Linked DNA regions of Homo sapiens: region 2 is linked to region 1. Evidence: promoter capture Hi-C in 16 types of primary human blood cells and fetal thymus (Javierre and others, 2016). All regions are on one chromosome and are shown on one strand. Each heading gives the region's core, a stretch centred on a gene start or on the middle of the fragment in contact. The rest is flanking DNA. Distances are from core to core; before and after follow the strand shown.

Region 1 (6,491 bases), core at 1,649-4,148:
TTGCCCTAGAGTTGGCAATATACATTTATAACTAATTCAAGTCCACTTTCAAGTAACATTATACTGCTTTCCAGGTAATGCAGGTAACTTAAAACAAAGTATTCTTAATTCTTCCCTCTCATGGCTAGTATCATTATTGTCATTCATTCAACTTATCCATAACCTACAATCATCAAATACATTATTATTATTTTGAATAAATGATTATTAGATCAATTAGGAATAAGAAAAACAAAAGTTTTATTTTACTTTCACTTATTCCTTAAAGTTCTTTCTTTATGTCGAAATTTATGACCTATATCATTTTCCTTCTCTCTGAAAAATTTCTTTTAACATTTCTTGCAAAGCAGGTCTACTGGTGAGAAATACCTTCAATTTTGTTTGTAAAAGTATTTCTCTTTCACTTCTGAAGGATAATTTCACTGAATACAGAATTCTAGGATGGTGGGGGTTTTCTCTCAAAATTTTAAATATTTCACCCCACTCTCTTCTTGCTTGCATGATTTCCGAAGACAAGTCCAATGTGATTCTTATCCTTATCCCACCTTATCTTATTTCCACCTCATCCTACCCAGCTCCTGCTCCCAGCTTTGCTTGCTCTTTCTTTCTTTCTTTCTTTCTTTTTTCTTTTCTTTTCTTTTTTTTGAGATGGAGTCTCCCTCTGTCACCCAGGCTGGAGTGCAGTGGCATGATCTCAGTTTACTGCAACCTCCACCTCTTGGATTCAAGCGATTCTTGTGCCTCAGCCTCCTGAGTAGCGGGGACTACAGACATGTGCCACCACACCTGGCTAATTTTGTATTTTTAGTAGAGACAGGGTTTCACCATATTGGCCAGGCTGGTCTTGAACTCCTGACCTCAAGTGATCCGCCCACCTCAGCCTCCCAAAGTGCTGAGATTACAGGCCAGCTTCTTTTGAGATTTTTTTTTTTTAATCTTGATTTCCTGCAGGCTTTTTTCAACTTTTATTTTAGATTCTGGTATATTGTGCAATGCTGATATTTGGGGTATGAATGATCCTGTCACCCAGGTACTGAGCACAGTACCCCATAGTTATCCAACCCTTGTCCCCTCCTTCCCTCCCCGCTCTGGTAGCCTCCAGTGTCTACTGTTGCCATCTTTACGTCCATGTGTACTCAATGCTCGCTTAAAAGTGAGAGCATGTAGTATATAATTTTCTGTTCCTGTGTTCATTTGCTTGGAATAATAGCTTCCAACTTCATCCATGTTTGCTACAAAGGACATGATTTCATTCTTTTTAATGACTACATAGTATTCCATATTGTATATGTACCACATTTTCTTTATCCAGTCGATCACTGAAGGGCACCTAGGTTGACTCCATGTCTTTGCTACTGTGACTAGTACTGTGATGAACATGCAAATGTATGTGTCTTTATGGTAGAACAATTTATTTTCCTTTTGCGTATATACCCAGTAAAGGGACTGCTGGGTTGAATAGTACTGTTTTAAGTTGTTTGAGAAATCTCTAAACTGCTTTCAACAGTGACTGAACTAATTTACATTACCACCAGCAGTGTATAAGCATTCCCTTTTCCCTGCAGCCTCACCAGCGTCTGTTGGTTTTTGACTTTTTAATAGTAGCCATTCTGATTGGTGTGAGATGCATTACTCTGATGATTAGTGATGTGGAGCATTTTTTCATGTTTGTTGACCACTTGTATATCTCCCTTTGAGAAGTCTATTCATGTCTTTTTGCCTGTTTTTTGATGGGGTTGTTTTTTGCTTGTTTAATTAAATTCCTTACAGATTCTGGATATTAAGACCTTTGTCGAATGCTTACTTTGCTAATACTTTTCTCCCACTCTATAGGTTGTCTGCTGACTCTGTTGATAGTTTCTTTTGATTTTCTACGGTTTAAATAGGAATGTCTAGGTGTAGTTCTTGGCATTTATCTTGCTTAATGTTCTCAGAGCTTCCTAGAATTGTGGTTTGGTGTTTGGCATTAATTTGGAAATATTCATTCTCAGTCGTTATTGTTTCAAATATTTCTTCTGTTCCTCTCTTTCTTGTCCTTCTGGTATTCCCATATATTTTTAATATACATTTAATGTAATGAATTTTTTAAACAAAATATAACTTAGGAGCCAGGTGTGGTGGTGTGCACCTGTAAGTCTCAGCTACTTGAGAAGCTGAGGTTGAGGGTAGCTTGAGTCCAGGAGTTTGAGGTTGTAGTGTGCTGCGATCACACCTGAGAATAGCCACTGCACTCCAGCTTGGGCAACATAGCAAGATCCACCCCTAAAATTTATGTATGTATGTGTATACATATATATGATTTGTATGATTTTCCTTATTATACGTTTATAGCTATATATGTATGTATAGATACATAAACATATATGTATATGAATGAATCACCTTGTGAGGGAGGTATTATCACTTTTTTTTTCGGAGAAGAGGTAGCCAAGGCTCTGAGAGGTCACGACACATGCATGAGATCACACAGCGCGTCTGGAATTCCATTTCAAGCCTGTCTGAGGAGGGCGCTCTCGCTGCTTCTTTACCTGGTCTTGTGTCCCCAAGTGTGTAATGTGAGGTAAGACCCAGGGTCTGTGTCCGGGAGTCCTGGCCCAAGGCGGGCGCAGTCTCCAGCCGCCCCACCCCTGGCTGGGGGCTCTGCTCAGGGAGCACGGCCGGCAGGGGGGAGGAGGCGTGCGCTAGGCAGCAGCGGGGATGGAGGGAAGGGAGGGGGTCCGCCACCCGCCTGTGCGCGCCCAGTCCTGCCGCATCCTGGGTGCGCGCCGCCCACCCGCGGGGCGAGTGCCCAGGAGGCGAGGCGCGGCCCGGTGCGCCAGAGGTAGCTCCACCGCGAGCGTTGTGGGTGGGGCCCGCCGAGCCCGCCTCCCCACCTCCCCCGGCGGCGCCCCAGGCTGCAGTGTTCCGGGAGCTGGGTTATAAAATGCCGGGTTAAGCGGCAACTCAGACTCAGGATCCCGCTCACGACATGGCCTCGGGCGCTCAGCTCCCGCCGCAGCCGTCGAGCTCAGAGGTCAGCGCCGTCCAGAGCCCAGGCGGGCGTCCCGGCGCCGGTCTGGAGGAAACAGCCCTGGGCGTTCCTCTCCCGCCGTCTCCGGGGGAGGCCCCTCTGCCCCGAAGCAACCGGAGCAGGTGCCCTGGGACCCGCCAGCCCGGAGCGGCCTCCCTCCACGCGGCGTCCGCAGCAGTCCCCGTGCGGCCCCGGCGCGGTACGGCGCCAGCCGGGAAAACCGCAGACGCGGTCCCCGCCGCCGCCCCAGAGCAAGCTCCGCGGCCGGCTCCACAGTCCCGCAAGCCGCGCAACCTGGAAGGCGACCTGGACGAGCGCCGGCTGCTCTGCCACTTGCAGCTGGCCCAGGACCGCGAGGCGCGCCTGTGGCGGGGCGGCAAACCCCAGGTACCCGTCGCTGCCGCGTGGCCCTCCTCGCGCGTGCACGGCAGGCGGATGTGGCCTCCACCTGCACCCGCGCTCGGGTGTTCTGAAACTGGAGGCCGGGCCCTTCCCCAGGTGTGGCCCCTCACGAGAGGCACGAGGCTGGATCCACCAGCTTCTCTCTAGGAGGGCGTCTTGCTAGCAGGGCCTTCGGAAGAGGGCCTGTTTGAATCAAGGAACTCAGCCTACGACGAAAAGTGGGCGCGAGGGGTGGGGGTGATGGGTGAGCCGCTGCGCCGGGGGGCGCTTACTCCCAGCGGGCATGCAGAGGAAGGGACTTCTCACTGCCCCACCCCCCGCACCTTAAGCAGGAGGCTCCTGCTGCTGGGGGACCAGGAGTGGCCGCTAGCGACCTTCCTCGCCCCACCTGCTCTTCTTCCTAGCAGGATGAAATCTGCGACGCCTTCGAGGAAGTCGTGCTGTGGCTCCTGCGGCTTCAGAACACCTTTTACTTCTCCCAGTCCACTTTTAACCTGGCCCTCACCATCTTTGGCCGCCTCCTGATTTCAGTGAAGGTAGGGAGGCCTCTGAGGGACGGTGGCAGATGGTGAGAGAAGAAACTAACCTTTGCTCCCCATTCCTGCTTGAGAGGTGAGGGTTTCCAGATGCTCAAAACCAAGGTGTATAAACTAACTTGCTCCGAGTGGAAGAGCTGGTGTTGGAACCTCTCCACATCCTACACTGGCTGTCTCAGGGTCATGTAGTCATCAGGATTGGACTTGGGGAGCGTGAGAGGACCTAGCTGGGAAAGGGCTTCCTGTGTAATGAGGTAGGATGTGCTTGTCTCGACCTGTCGAGGGCAGCTTGAGGCTAGGATGAGACTGGGTTCCCTGAGAAGGTGCCATATTTCCCACCTCCAGTCAGTCCCGAAATGAAGGAATACTGCCCAGTCATCTGCAGTTCTGAAATCAGGAGCATCTTCGTTGGTCAGATCTAAAAACGGCACTAACATTCTGTCTTGTGGAGAAATTGAGCCTTTTAAAAATGGGAAAAAAAAGCTTATTAAAACAAACGGCTGGGCGCAATGGCTCACGCCTGTAATCCCAGCAATTTGGGAGGCCAAGGGGTGTGGATCACTTGAGGTCAGGAGTTGGAGACCATCCTGGCCAGCATGGTGAAACCCTGTCTCTACTAAAAATACAAAAATTAGCCAGGTGTGGTGGCCCGCCCCTATAGTCCTAGCTACTCAGGAGGCTGTGACAGGAGAATCGCTCAAAATCAGGAGGTGGAGGTTGCAGTGAGCCAAGATCATGCCACTGCACTCCAGCCTGGGCAACAGAGTGAGACTCCATGTCAAAAAAGTGTATAAAAGAAAACAAACACAGATGCTTTTCAGTTTGTTTCTGGCATTCATATTCTGCTCAAATGTGTTTGTTCCATACTGCAGGTAAAAGAGAAATACCTGCATTGCGCCACAATTACTTCCTTGAGGCTCGCTGCAAAAGTTAATGAAGAAGAGGAGGTATGCATCCTTGGAAGTCCACACTGGGCTGCACTTGAGGTATAGGGGTGTAACATTGGAGGACTCCAGTTTCCTGATAGGTCTGTGCCCTTAGGTATGGTGGATGTTTTGAAAAAGTCACCAACTTGCCGGCATCTCTGCTATCCCTTCCATCGGCTTGTCAGGCTTTGAGACCCCACAAATGAACAAGTAGAGCAGCTGAACTGTCCTGGCCCACCAAACCTAGAGACCTGAACTCTTGACAGATACATCTGGCCTCACTGGTTGATGACAGATGCTACCTCTCTCTAAACAGGGGCATCTGCTGTTGAGCAAGGAAAAAGGCCTCCCAAACCATGTGACTTAACATCCACCCCAAGCAATTATGTCTAAGAAAGCTGCTTGAGACTTGAGGACTTGGCTGTGTCAATGAAGCTGGTCCTTGGGAACTCTGGGACCCCTGAGAGGGACAGGAGGGCCATGTGCTGGGGGTAAAGTACAAGGGGCCCATGAGCATTTCAGGCATGGCTGGATGGCTGAATTTCACTGTGGCATCTGTTCAGGAGGAGATCATCTCCTAATACCCTTTCCAAGCTTTCCTACCTCCCTCCAACTTCTCCCAGTTTGGGGATGGTGAAATCACTGCCATTGCCACGGGGGTCACCCTTAGCTGATCTCTGGGTCTGAGGAGGCAGGGAAGAAGTTGTGTGTCCAGTTCCAAACCTTCAATAAAAATGTTTTAAACTCCTGTTTATTAGAATAGAATTAATGCCCAAGTTGCTTTTGTCCAACTAAAAATCAAGTGACCCTTTTTCTGGAGGTTATAGTAATACTTCTGTTTATCTAAAAACATAGGATCAAGCCTTTAATGTACTTGGTACTCAAATGTTTACTCATAGACAAGCCTCATTAGTCCCTCTGTGGGAAAAGCCATAGTTTTTCCAGAACTGAACCACCTTCAATCAAGGTTGAAGGAAATGTGTTTGCAGTTGCGATGCTAAAAAACCCATAGGAGGTTTTATCAATGTGTCTGGTACAGACTAGGAAGCTCAAAAGCATAGTTTTTTTCTCTATGCCCAGTACCCACGGTAGGGATCAGGAATAGGGAGAGGCAGAACCCATGGCTCCTGGAAAGCTTGGGGTGAGTTCTTGCAGCTGAACAGGGGAGATGGCACAGCCCCAGCCTCCAAAGCACCTTTGGGTATGAGCTAGCATGCAGCTGGGGGATCAAGACCCGGTTTCAGAGGGGGACCATGTGATGTTCACTACATAACTACCTGAGGATTTGACAGATAGCCAAGATCTGGTTTAGTATTTCTTTCAGAAGCATTTTCTGTGGCAGGCCACAGGAAGACAACTCCACTAAGGTCATGAATGCCCAGTCCCCATGGGTAAGAAAACAAAAGCTACTATGACATGATGTAGGGCTTTGGCCTCTTTATTTTCTTTTTACAGTTTATTCCACAAGTAAAAGACTTCACAAAGCACTATGGCTCTGACTATTCCCCGAATGAGCTGCTGAGGATGGAGCTGGCTATTCTGGACAGACTGCACTGGGACCTCTATATTGGGACGCCGCTGGACTTCTTGACTATAGTGAGTAAGGAGGTGTTTACA
Region 2 (2,500 bases), core at 1-2,500, 360 kb before region 1:
CTAACAAAACTAGCCAGAGCTTCCTGGTGAACCTTACTTACAGGCAGGGAAACTGAGCCAGACATGAGACCAGCCTGGGGTCCCCAGCAGCACAATGGCCTGACTTCTGATTTCCAGTTCTTTTCTGGCCTCTGGGCTGTGGCTCCTTGGTCTTAGTACTTGATGGTCAATTTACTAGGACTCACCAGAGATCCTCCATTTACAAAAAGGGCCTGCCACTGCACAGGGCTGAGCCAGCCCCAGAAAGAGGGCGGCATGGTTGGAGGAGGAGGGGCTGTGACTGGCAAGCTTGCTAAGGTAGAGAACCCCTTGTCTGCAGAGCACTGTGGCTGGTGATATCTACGGACAAGAATAAATTGATAGGAAGGGGCTTTCGTCACCTTCAGGGTTTTAATTCAGAGTGCACACTGCAGGGCTTTGTCTCAAATGTGCCAGCCTGTTGTCACTGAGAAGCTGCCAGGCCGGCCTGTGTTTGGAGGAACCTGACTCTAGCTGATAAGGCCTTTGAGTTCCTTGGGTTGTATTGTTGAAAGGGTTGTTTTTTCTTTTTATATTTAATATTCTTTCCTTGAGGCTTAAGTCAGCATGTGCTGACTTAGTAATGACTTCACTTTTAATAAATTCTTCCTCATGTGAGGATTAAAGGGGGCCTACCATGGCATCTTTAGCACATGGCTTCAGAACATGGCGAAATTTTCAAGAGAGAACTGTTGCTTGGGGGCCTGAGAGGCCACAGGGATGTACCCCCAGGAGACAGTCAGACAGGAGGGGTTCAGAACGCCATCCGCTCCCTAGCGCCATGAACTTAGAGAGAGTTCTCGCTGTTTTCTTGTCTGTGTATTCACAAAGATACCATAAAAAATTAATAAGGAAGGAACCCAAATTAAACTGCTAACTCGACCTCCCTTGTTTTGAACAGGGACAGAAATTCTTGGCAAGTCAGTTCGTATAATATTCTCTACGTTAGGAGTGTGCATATTTTATGCATTTGGCTACATGGTGCTGCCACTGTTTGCTTACTTCATCCGAGACTGGCGGATGCTGCTGGTGGCGCTGACGATGCCGGGGGTGCTATGCGTGGCACTCTGGTGGTGAGTGTGACCTTGTGCCCCATGTGCCCACTGGCAGGATGATTTCTGTCTGGCCTTCACTAGAGGGCAGCAACAACCCATGAATCCCTATTTTGTCTCCCAGAGACAGGAAGCATAGATTATAAATTATTTCAGAATGTTTTCTCCACACTCAAAAGAGCCAAAACAAAACAGAATCCCATGACAGCAACAGACTTGCTCTCAGCCCTGTGCTGGGTTGCCCCAAGTGTGGGGAAAAATAGCAGTAGCTGTGAGAAGATGGGGTCCAGCATGCCCTGTAGGAAGTTCCCAAGCCTCAGGGCAGGACAGTGTAGGCCCTAGTTCTGGCTGTGTGCTGCTGAAGCCTCATGCCACAGGCACTGGCACCAAAAGCAAGAGTCCTCAGGGTAGCCACATGGAGGAAGCCAGGCTCCTTCTGCACCACCAAGGTAGAGGAGTTGAACAGGCAGAGAAGAGGCCATTCCAGACCAAGAGGGGAACACTGCAGAGGTGCTAAGGTGGGAATCACCCCTTGCAGGTGGAGAAGGTGAGATCACCAGCCCAAGTGGAGCAGAGAGCATTTCAGGGCATAGTGGGAGAGTAAGCCGCACATCATGGGGCCCAGTCATGACCGAGGGTGGGGGGCGGCTACCTGGTCCCAGCAAGGTGGAAAATAATATCCATAGAGCACTCAAGTGCCTTGATAAACATGCTAATTTTTTTCCTTTTTTTCTTTTCTTTTTCTTTTCTTTTTTTTTCTTTTTTTTTTCTCAGACAAAGTCTCTGTTGCCCAGGCTGTAGTGCAGTGGCGTGATTTCCACTTACTGCAACCTCCGCCTCCCCAGTTCAAGCGATTCTCATGTCTCAGCCTCCCGAGTAGCTGGGACTACAGGTGCCTGCCACCACACTTGGCTAATTTTTTTTGTATTTCTTTGGAGAGACGGGTTTCACTGCGTTGGCCAGGCTGGTCTGGAACTCCTAGCCTCAAATGATCCACCGGCCTTGGCCTCCTAAAGTGCTGGGATTATAGGAGTGAACCACTGCACCTGGCCAAACATGCTATTTTAGGTAGAGTATCTGACTAATCTGTTGGATAAATCAGGGGTAGGGTGAGGAGAGAAGAGAAGCTAAAAGGCCAGTGCAGAAGCTTCTGTTGGTGCCGGGGACAGGGAGGAGAGTGTAGCAGGGCCTGGGCTGACATAGACATGCACAGAAGCCAGGCTTCCGGAGCCCATCTTGCACCCATCTCCTCAGCCCAGCAGATGGCAACACTGCTCTTCAGAAATGGAGGTGGCCAGCCAGCATGGGGATGCCGTCAGGGGGTGCAGGGCTCTCCCATTTTTGTGCGGTGTGGGGTACACATAAGCTCATCCACCCCAGGTTATTGCTGCGTGTGGATCAGCTCTTTGCTTCTGGCTTGTGATCACCAA

Evidence for each region. Contacts are between HindIII fragments. The CHiCAGO score rates a contact against its expected background, and 5 or more counts as called.
Region 2: a contact is called between a fragment that was not itself captured here and the fragment with the promoter of CCNI2 in region 1, in 5 of 17 cell types (endothelial precursors, activated CD4 T cells, total CD4 T cells and 2 more). The highest score is 7.6, in endothelial precursors.

Annotation. Positions count from the first base shown.
Region 1 is chr5:132,744,528-132,751,018 of GRCh38, forward strand. CCNI2 (cyclin I family member 2) reads left to right here and starts at 2,899. Exons shown (of 6, transcript NM_001039780.4): 1 at 2,899-3,397; 2 at 3,820-3,948; 3 at 4,821-4,895; 4 at 6,330-6,470. The coding sequence starts at 2,969. It overlaps SEPTIN8 (septin 8), which reads right to left. Exons shown (of 10, transcript NM_001098811.2): 10 at 6,292-6,491. RefSeq lists an enhancer at 2,382-2,461 and silencers at 2,552-2,971, 2,982-3,051, 3,072-3,261. The HindIII fragment of the contact is 9,894 bases long and covers 1-4,429 here.
Region 2 is chr5:132,384,409-132,386,908 of GRCh38, forward strand. SLC22A5 (solute carrier family 22 member 5) reads left to right here. Exons shown (of 10, transcript NM_003060.4): 4 at 920-1,091. Among named protein-coding and RNA genes, the nearest start is that of MIR3936HG, 16 kb to the left of the region's middle. RefSeq lists enhancers at 1,210-1,539, 2,033-2,082, 2,223-2,432. The HindIII fragment of the contact is 1,929 bases long and covers 287-2,215 here.